Regions from separate parts of the Homo sapiens genome. Here region 2 is linked to region 1. Evidence: promoter capture Hi-C in human tissues and cell types (Jung and others, 2019). All regions are on one chromosome and are shown on one strand. Each heading gives the region's core, a stretch centred on a gene start or on the middle of the fragment in contact. The rest is flanking DNA. Distances are from core to core; before and after follow the strand shown. Region 1 holds the start of CYP2C18 (cytochrome P450 family 2 subfamily C member 18). Region 2 overlaps LOC107984257 (a long non-coding RNA gene).

Region 1 (5,241 bases), core at 984-3,483:
TACTATACTGAAAATTTGCTAAAAGAGTAGATTTTAGGTGCTTATACCACAAAAAAGAAGTTAATTATAGAATTGATTAATATGTAAATTTGTTTAACCATAGTAATGATTCCACTGTTTATATGTCTACCAATGTTGTATACCTTAAATATATACAATGGAAATAAACAAATAACTGTACTAGTCATTTAGAATACCACAATGACATCTTTACAGAATATGCCTTTGTACAAGCATTGCCATTAGTGATCTAGAAATGTATGTATCATTTTAGTGATATATAGAGCCTCATGAGCGCTAAATGTCATCTCCAGTTCAGGTCTGCACAACTGTGTTTGTTCTGTGCCATGGGTCTGTTTAATGATTTCCCTACCTCCCATTCACCACTGAAGCACATGCCTGTTGTTCTGCCTATAATTCCCCTTCCTTGCTGTGCAATATTTCATTCCATTATTTCTGACACAGACCAAAAAAGCAATAGAAACAGCAGTGTCTGGAGGCAAGTGGGAGCTGGAGAAGCCATAGTTTCTGAGATCTTACCCACTTAATTCTCTGAGATTGGCTCTTTCCTCAGTTATACTGAGTAGGTTTCAGCTCTTCAGTGACAGAGAGGGGAGAAACCCTAGCTTTTATTTCTTCTCTTGAGAATGTACAACCCTGTTATTTTGTGAACAGTGTGGTGTAGATTCAGAGTGAGAAATGTTTTTAGGATTTATTTTATTTTGCTAAAACTGTTCTCAAGGCAGCTCTGGTGTAAGTGAGAATATACCACAGCGGGCGTCAGAAGATCTCAGTTCAAATCCCAGCCTGCCATTTATGAGCTGTGGGACACTGGACAGGTCATCTGTTCTCCTAGAGTCTCCCTTTCCCCATTTGGAAAATATGAAATAATATTCTCAGCCGTCCAGTGTTTTTCACGGGGTTTAATGGAAAAAGGTGTGTATGTTTACTTAGTTAATTGATAACCGGTTTAGCCATTTAAGATGAATGAGTTTGTTAGCTGCTTTATGTTTAGGCAGCTGTAATGTTAGTACTACATTAAAATATTTCAAAAGGATCTCATTTTCAAGGAAAATGATCTAGTGTTTGAGAAAGCATTATAGTGTTGCAGTCTTGCAGATCCTTAGCTCAGCTAGGTCCGAGTTGTCTTATGCAGGAAGAATTAGGCACACAGACACTGGAGAGTGAGTGGAGTAGAATTTATTAAGTGAAAGGAAAACTCTCAGCAAAGAGAGAGGCCCTGAAAGCAGGTTGCAGATTGCCACTTCACAGTTGAATACCAGGACTTTTATAGAAAAGCTGATGAGGCTGGGATACTTATTTGCATAAGGCGTGAATTCCTGGTGTTTCCACCCCTTCCTTCCATTGCGCGTGTGGGCTCTTAGTCTAAGCCACTCCATATTGATTTATTTCCCTTCCTGCGCATGTGTTAAAGGTAGGAATTTTTCACTGTGGGCATATTTAGGCAAGCTCCCTGTGCAAGTTCCCTTATCTGCACAAAACATCTAGTGTAAGTACTTGGGGTTTTTGTGGATTGGGCAATGACCTGGAAGGGTTGGAGGTTCTCTGGGGACCCTTCCCTTACTGCCTGCCTAATGCAAGCTGGCTAACTCCTCTCAATAGGATAAACATTATTTTATGTACAAGGAATATAATACACAGATTGCCCTCAAAGTCATATTTCCAACTGCTCATCAATCTAAAAATCCAAAATTTTGAATAATTTTTTGATGAAATAATTTATTTCATTGTTTCTCAATTTTGGCTGCACAGTGGAACCACCTGGGCTGTTTGAAAAAACCTAGGCCTAGCCAGGCACGGTGGCTCATGCCTGTAATCCCAGCACTTAGGGAGACCAGCCTGGCCAACATGGTGAAACCCTGTCTCTGCTAAAAATACAAAATCACCTGGGCGTAGTTGTGCATTCCTGTAATCCCAGCCACGCCAGAAGCTGAGGCAGAATCGTTCGAATCCAGGAAGTGGAGGCTGCAGTGAGTTGAGATCTTGCCATTGCACTCCAGCCTGGGCAACAAGAGCGAAACTCCATCTCAAGGAAAAACAACAACAACAACAACAAAATCCTGGGCTCTGCTTCAGACTAGTTAAACCAGAATCTCCAGGGTGGGGCACCGGAAAGAACAAGAAAAAAGAACACCTTATTTTTATCTTCTTCAGTGAGCCAATGTTCATTCAAAAGAGAGATTAAAGTGCTTTTTGCTGACTAGTCACAGTCAGAGTCAGAATCACAGGTGGATTAGTAGGGAGTGTTATAAAAGCCTTGAAGTGAAAGCCCGCAGTTGTCTTACTAAGAAGAGAAGCCTTCAATGGATCCAGCTGTGGCTCTGGTGCTCTGTCTCTCCTGTTTGTTTCTCCTTTCACTCTGGAGGCAGAGCTCTGGAAGAGGGAGGCTCCCGTCTGGCCCCACTCCTCTCCCGATTATTGGAAATATCCTGCAGTTAGATGTTAAGGACATGAGCAAATCCTTAACCAATGTAAGTATGCTTTATGTTCCTCCAGTAATGTACAAGGTGTATTTAACCTCACAATTCTTAAAGTTTTATTTCATTTTAAAGTGATAAATGATAATTGTATATATTAATGGGGTACAATATTACATTTTGATACATGTATAGATTGTGAATTGATCATATCAGGGTAATTAGCATATCCATCATCTCAAATATTTGTCATTTCTTTGTAGTGAGAACATTTAAAATCCTCTTTTTTAGCTGTTTTGAAATATACAGTACATTAATATTAATTATAGTCACCTTGCTGTCCAATAGAACACCCGAGCTTATTCCTCCTATCTAAGTGTAACTCTGTACCTGTTGACCAACGTATCCCCTTATTTGGCCCATCTCCACCTGCCAGCCTCTGGTAGCCACCATTCTAATCTCTACTTCTCTGAGTTTAACTTTTTAAGATTCCACATAGAAGTGAGATCATATATGATATTTGCCTCTCTCTGCCTGGCTTATTTAATTAATATGATGTTCTGTAGATTCATCCATGCCGTCATAAATAAGAATATTTTTTCCTCTTTAAAAGGCTGAATAGCATTTCATTGTACATATATGTCACATACAAAATCCATTAATTTATTGATGAACACTTAGGTTGTTTCCATATCTTGGCTATTGTCAATAGCACTGCAATAAACATGGAAGTACAGACATGTCTTCCACATACTGACTTCAATTCCTTTGGGTATATACTGGTAGTGGGATTGCTGGATCATCTGATAGTTCTATTTTTGTTTTTTTTAGGAACATCCATACTGTTTTCTCAAATCACAATGCTAATTTACATACCCAAGGTTCACTTTATTCCACATCTTTGTCAACACTTGTTATCTTTTTATCTTTTTGATAATAATAATATCTTATCTATGAGTTGTGATGAGTTATCTCATTGTGGTTTTAATTTGCATTTCTCTGATGATTAAATTTGTTGAGTATTTAAAAAATATATCTTGGCCATTTGTATGTCTTTTTTTGAAAAATGTCTACTCAAATCCTTTGCCCATTTAATTAATTAATTAATTAATTAATTAATAGAGACAGGGTTTTGCTCTGTTGTAGGATGGAGTGTAGTGATGGGATCATGGTCCCTGCAGCCTTGAGCTCCTGGGCTCAAGCCATCCTTCTACCTTAGACCCCCAAGTAGCTGGGGCTACAGGTGTATGCCACCATGCCTGGATAATTTTTTAATGCTTTGTAGAGATGTGGTCTCATTATGTTGTCCAGGCTGGTCTTGAACTCTTGGGCTCAAGCAATCCACCCACCTTTGTCTCTCAAAGTGCTGGAATTACAGACATGAGCCATTGCACTTGACCCCTTTGCTCGTTTTAAATAGAATTATTTATTTGTTATTGAGTAATTTGAGTTTCTAAGTATTTTGGGTGGTCAGAATCTCATTTGTCTAGTTTTGCTTTCATGGCCTGTACTTTTAGGATCATATCCAAGAAATCATTGCCTAGACCAATGTCATGGAGTTTTTCTATATGGTTTCTTTCAGTAGTTTTTAGTTTCAGGTCTTATGCTTAAGGCTTTAATTCATTTTGAGTTAATTCTTGTATAAGGGTGAGATTAGGATTCTCTTTTATTCTTTGCATATGAATATCCAGTTTTCCCAACACCTTTTGCTGAAGAGTGCTTTCCCCATTGTATGTTCTTGGCACCTTTGTCAAAAATCAATTGATTATAGATGTGTGGGCTTATTTCAGGGTTCTCTACGCTTTTCCTTTAATCAGTGTGTCTATTTTTATGCTAATGCTATGCAGTTTTGCTTACTATAGCTTTGTAACATATTTTGCAGTTCAGTGGTGTGATGCCTCCAGCTTTATTCTTTTTGATTAATTTGCTTTAGTTATTTGGGGTCTTTTGTGGTTCCATACAAATTTTAAGATTTTTTTTCTATTTCTGTGAAGAATGAGATTAAAATTTTGATAGGGATTGCACTGAATCTGTATATTGCTTTGGGTAATATGGACATTTTTCCACTATTAGTTTTTCCAATCCATGAACATGGGATATCTTTGCCTTTATTTGTGTCATCTTCAATTTCTTTCATCAATGATTTGTAGTTTTCAGTATATAGATCTTTCTCTTCCTTGATTAAATTTATTCATAAGTATTTTATTTTTTGATGCTACTATAAATTAATTGTTCTCTTAATTTCTTTTTTAGATATTTTGTTGCTAGTGTATAAAAATGCCACTGATTTTTGCATGTTGATTTTTTATCCTTCAAGTTTACTGAATTTGTTTATCAGTTCTAGCACTTTTGTACTGAAGTCTTTAGATTTTCTACATATAAGATTATTTCATCAGGAAACAGACAATTTCACTTCATCCTTTCCTACATGAATACATCCTTTCCTATACGAATATTCCTATATGAATATTTTCTGTCTTTAGTCTAATTGCTCTGACTAGGACTTCCAGTACTCTGTTGAACAGAAATGGTCAGAGGGGGCATTCTTCTCTTATTTCTGATCTTAGAGGAAAAGCTTTTAGCTTTTCACCATTAAATATGATGTTAGCTGTGGGCTTGCCACATATAACCGTTAATGTCACATAGAAACTTCTGTATTACTGGAGGCCAGTTATTAAAGGTTATATGTTATAGGAACATTCCTCAGCATTCCTCCTGTACCAGCAGAGGCTGATTATTAAAGTATGCTATTGTAAAGCAAATACTTCCTGTGGAGTATGTTTTTCTTTTTTGTCATTGTCAG
Region 2 (5,241 bases), core at 1,400-3,899, 500 kb after region 1:
GACAGGTTTTCTGACACTCTAGACAGCTACATATTACAGCCTGCTCTTGTGCACATTTCAAAACTGTGGGCAAATCACATTAAGAAATGTTCAGTGTTCAAATGGTCATTATTCAAAAACCTACAAGTATAGAGTTAACAGAGTCTTCTACGTTCTCTATCTCTGTTTTTTTCCTGCCTACTCTGAATCAGCTGACTTTTCTAGTGTTGTTAATATAAAACTCATTGCTTATGGCATTCCAGCTAAAAATTTTTAAAAATAAGTCTTAAAGGGCTTTTAAGTTAATGGCTTTACAAGTTACAATGGCTCCATGGTGAGCAACAACCTAGATACCTTTATAAATACACATTTAGATTTGTCTTACAATTATGTACAGTGATAAAACACTTAACTTACTTAAAAATTAATAATCTAAAAGAAAAGGAACTAGGTAAGTGTTTACAAAAGTTAGGCTCTTAGATCAAACAGGTCAAAATCTTAAGCTCAGAGCAATAATATGTTATCTCTGTCCAGCAAAAAAAATGTTTGCTTTTGTTGCCACACAGAAGCCAAAATGTAAAAGCGGAGAGAAAAAAGAAACTACTAAAATTCTTTTGCCCACATTTGCTAACCAAGCAAACTAAATCAGCAAACAAAAGATAGACTGGTTACTAATTCAATGCTACTTGGAGATTTTGTTCTTTCTTACACTATTCCACCAGTCCTAGTTAAAATGTACACATTGACAATTTAACCATAAATTTATTAGAAACTGAACAAAGGCAGAGAAAAGGGTGAAAGGCTTTTTTTTTTTTTTTTTTTTTTTTACTCAAACTGCTGTGAAAACTGCTTTACCCAAAATCCACAGCCTTCACCAGATTATCTATTAGGGCAAATAAAGTTTAGCCTCTATATGTAAACAGGTCCCAATTTTGTCAGAAATATAATTTGGGTCCAAATGTTTTATCAGCCAGTGAGTTTGTATTACTATCTCACAACCAAAATTCTAAAATAAAAGCGATGAGATTTTTATTTTTTGTGTGTATACATATGTGTTTAGATGTGTTCATATAGAAGCACATGTATCATGTTACATATTATGTCTACATGGTGAAATCTGGCATAGTCAGCCAGAAATTCCTTAAAGATAAATGAGTACTCATATAAAGTACAAAATATATAATAATTACCAAATGCCTTTTAGTTCACATGACTTAAATAAATCTTTTTATTATTATTTTATTTTTATTATTTGATTTTATTTATTTACTGAAGCTCATTTTTAAATTATTGGTAAAAATAAAAATGTCTTTAGAATTGTCAGCATATATTTCTGCCTGGGTTTACTGGTTACTTTAATATTTGTCTCCGATAGATATTTTAAGGTGTCAGGGTTTCACATGAAGGTTATACAACTGTAAGCCCAGGCTAAAACAAAGTGATTTTTGTATAATTATTTGATAAGCAAAACTAACTTAATACTGTTGCTTTAATAAAAACAGCTGTATCTTCTGAGTTGTTGGGAACATGCTCCTACATTTAACTTCAAGGTCCTTAATCAGGTGAACATTGATATTCACAAGCTGTAAAAATGATTAACAGGGAAATAACTTGAAATGAGATCGAGTTTTGTCTAATATCCCAGTTCTCACTGGTAATCCAGGTAAATGTTAGAAAATTAAATGTAAATGAGAAAAATGTCTATAAAGTTTTCATGTAACTTGATGTCTTAAAGTTACATTAAATAATAGATACTAATTAAATGTGTAGGTCATTTCCAAATAAGATTTTAAAGTTATGTTCTAGGGGACCAGGGGCCATGGCTCACACTGTGGGCCGGGGCTCACATCTGTAATCTCAGTACTTTGGAAGGCCAAGTTGGGTGGATCGCTTGAGCTCAGGAGTTCGAGACCAGGCTGGGCAACATAGCAAAACCCAGTCTCCACAAAAAAATACAAAAATTAACCAGATCTGGTTGCATACGCCTGTAGTCCCAGCTACTCGAGAGGCTGAAATCGAAGAATTACTAGAGCCCAGAAAGCAAAGGTTACAGTGAACTGAGACTGTGCCACTGCACTCCAGCACAGGTGACAGAGCCAGACCCTGTCTCAAAAAAGAAAAAAAAAAAAAGTGTGTGTGTGTATTATATATATATATATATTAGGGAATATGTTTGTAAAAATTATAAAATGGTTCTTATCTATAAAATACTGATAGGTGACAGACAATTTAAAATTTCTTACTTTCAGCTAGGCATGGTGGTTCACAATTATTTTTATTACAAAAATAAAATTTCTGTAATCTCAGCACTTTGGGAGGCTGAGGCGGGCAGATCATCTGAGGTCAGGAGTTCCAGACCAGCCTGGCCAACATGGCAAAGCCCCATCTTTACCAAAAATACAAAAAATTAGCCAGGTGTGGTGGCGCATGCCCATAATCCCAGCTACTTGGGAGGCCGAGGTGGGAGAATCACTTGAACCCGGGAGGCGGAGGTTGCAGTGAGCCAAGATCATGCCACTGCACTCCAGCCTCGGCAACAGAGTGAGATTCCGTCTTAAAAAATTAAGGAAATTTTCACTAAAATTTAAGGTTACTAAGAGTTAAAATTTTTAATTAGTACATATAATTCTATATATACAATGTGCCAAAAAATAAGGCGTTCTTGGTGAGAAAAAAATTATTAGAAAGTCATAAAAAATACATTTTATTGAGAAAAAGAATATTTTTATCGAATTTGGGGATCATTTAAAAGTTGTTTCACAGTAGCTAGAAAAGAACTAGTAAGTAGGAGACAGATGTAAAGAAAGTTATGGATATTAAGATGTAATTTTGGTAACAGAAGTCTTTCTAAAGATTGAAATTTGACATTAAAATACATTAATACAAAACAACAAAATAAGTTGGTCCCCTATGTTAGAATGACAGTTTGCTTACTGATTTGCTCTTAGTAAAATTTTAAGAGGTTTTATTTTTAATTCTAAAATCTTATTTAATAGAAGATTTAAACTAGTTCTAATTCTTCCTGAGATCTAACTAACTTCCCTAGTTTCAGATTGGAAATGCGGTGTCTTTCTTTCAGAATGGCCATTTCATTTCTAGAGGTAACATTTTTCTTTTTCAAACTTCTCAGATTTATATCCGAAATTCAACTTTCTCTGTACCACATTGCAGGTCATAAACCACTGCCTTCTGTTTTCTCCCCCTTTAAAAAGGTGTATCTTTTTGCATGGCCACAATGGTAACAGTGGTAGCTCTGTCTTTCAACATTTTTGTCAACTCCTGTAACATTTTTTCTCTGGTTCTAGTTCTGCTGTTATGGCCTGACACTGAAATGGTTAGCATGAAGGTCTGGAAAACCAATGTTTTCCTCCAACATAACTTGAATCTGTACTTTTGGCTTTTCTTCCTATGTCTAAATTGTTGTTCCATGTAACCAGGAAACTTCCCATGCTGTTACTAACAGCCATGTATTCCCTGGCTCATGGTACTAATTTCCTTGTTTACATTCCTCTAAAATACAGTGTACACTCATATCCCCGTACATACTCTTCCTGTGTCTGATTAAATTCAAGTACCCTTTTTGATTACTCAGGAAAACTAAGCTTTAAAAGGGTTCGAGTTTTCATATCCACATAACTTTCTGTATAGCTTTTAAGTCTCTGGTTAAATGACTATTCTTTTAACAGTGACCTGTGATTCTGTTTTGATCAAATGTTTTCAATCTTTGACAGGTTTCCCCAGAGTCAAAAATCCTAAATTAAGTCTTAAAATTAACTTCGGGACTGTTCAGCTGGGTCCCTGGAGAGTCTAAAGAATGGATCTCTCACCTTGTAGAGATATTAAATTATTAGATTTGGTAGACTGTATGAGCGGGCATTGTCAAATGTTGTGATACTGCATGGGAGAGCATTGTCAAATTATGTGATATTAGATCCCACTTCAGTTACATTTATAGGTATGTTATTGACACGCATGTTCCAAAAATTATATAAACTTATAAAAATTTAATGATTCATAATTTTGATTGTTACGCTAAATATTTGCTAAAGTTACATTTGTATAAATATGTTATTAATGCATTCTGAAGATTGTATGAAATTTATAAAAGCCTGGTGGTCCTGATGTGATGCTGTCAGTCATGATTCTGGTTATTGTCTTAACATGCTGCACGTAAGAGAAGTAACTAAATTTCCTTGTCAATTGGGAACTTTCATCAGATTTTCATCATAGCTATTCTGTTTCCATCATCCACAGTTCTGCTTTGAATTCGAAAAATATTTGCGATCAGCGATAGTCCAAATTTGCTTTTCATGGAAAAAACTCTTAACAGGTCCTCTTGAACACAGGTTTCTGATAACTTTCAGATCAATAAACTACCCCAGCCTTTACCACTATGCAATATAGGCATGTAAGAAACTTGTACTTATACCCTTTAAATATATTAAAACAAATGTTTTAAAAAAATAAACTAAACACAAATTCCTAGAACTCTAATAAACTTAAGGGTTCAAAAAACTGCTAAGCAAGATCAAGCAAAACAAAAAATCTATGAAATTAAGATAATATTTTTATAACTTTTATTTAAAACACTGTTGGTTGTATTCTAGATTTAAGAAAGGTTTCTCACAGATGTTATCTATAATTTACATCAGTTTGGTAAAGCACACTTGTAAACAAAGGTGGAAGCATTTGGTTTTTCTCCCTACTTGATCCCTCCAAAATTTGGAAACTATTCACAAATATTCTAATTTTCGTTTACATATCGGCTCTTTATAAGCAGGATAAAATCGGAAATATTGGTTATATTATCAAGGCTTTGACTGAAACATCATATTTAAGAATATGCATAAAATGCCCGGATTCAAGAGTTTCCAGCCTTACAGTGAGGGGAGAAAAATGTCACTTCCTGGCGGACCTGACAACCTTAGAACTTTTCGGGGAGAAGCTTGGCAGGGAGGGGACCTGGCAGCTGCTCCTGGGCAGGAACCAGAGGGCAAAGTCCGTGGCGACCCTCGGGCCTGGCGGGGACCTTACGCTTCCCGGCGTCTTTCCCTCTGCCCCGCCGGCTGCTGAGGGAGCGGCGGCCGCCCTGCGCCTGGAGGTCGTTCCCTCGCCTCCTCCGGGCCGCGGGTAGCGAGAGGCGGCGGCGGCCGGAGCCGGTGTGGGCGGCCTGAGGCGAAAGCCCGGCCGGCCCCTAGGGGAATGAAACAACCACCGGCTACCAGAGCAACAACGGCCTCCGCGGCTGCACCGCCGACTTCC

What was found. Contacts are between HindIII fragments. The study calls those that stand out against the background at their distance.
Region 2: a fragment that was not itself captured here is called in contact with the fragment with the promoter of CYP2C18 in region 1 in 1 of the 25 tissues and cell types used here (mesendoderm cells).

What each region holds. Positions count from the first base shown.
Region 1 is chr10:94,681,496-94,686,736 of GRCh38, forward strand. It overlaps CYP2C18 (cytochrome P450 family 2 subfamily C member 18), which reads left to right and starts at 2,234. Exons shown (of 9, transcript NM_000772.3): 1 at 2,234-2,492. The coding sequence starts at 2,325. The HindIII fragment of the contact is 11,159 bases long and covers 1-5,241 here.
Region 2 is chr10:95,178,459-95,183,699 of GRCh38, forward strand. The region is part of intron 3 of LOC107984257 (a long non-coding RNA gene); the gene reads right to left. It also overlaps the pseudogene PAWRP1. Among named protein-coding and RNA genes, the nearest start is that of ACSM6, 13 kb to the right of the region's middle. RefSeq lists a silencer at 4,876-5,175. The HindIII fragment of the contact is 3,205 bases long and covers 1,048-4,252 here.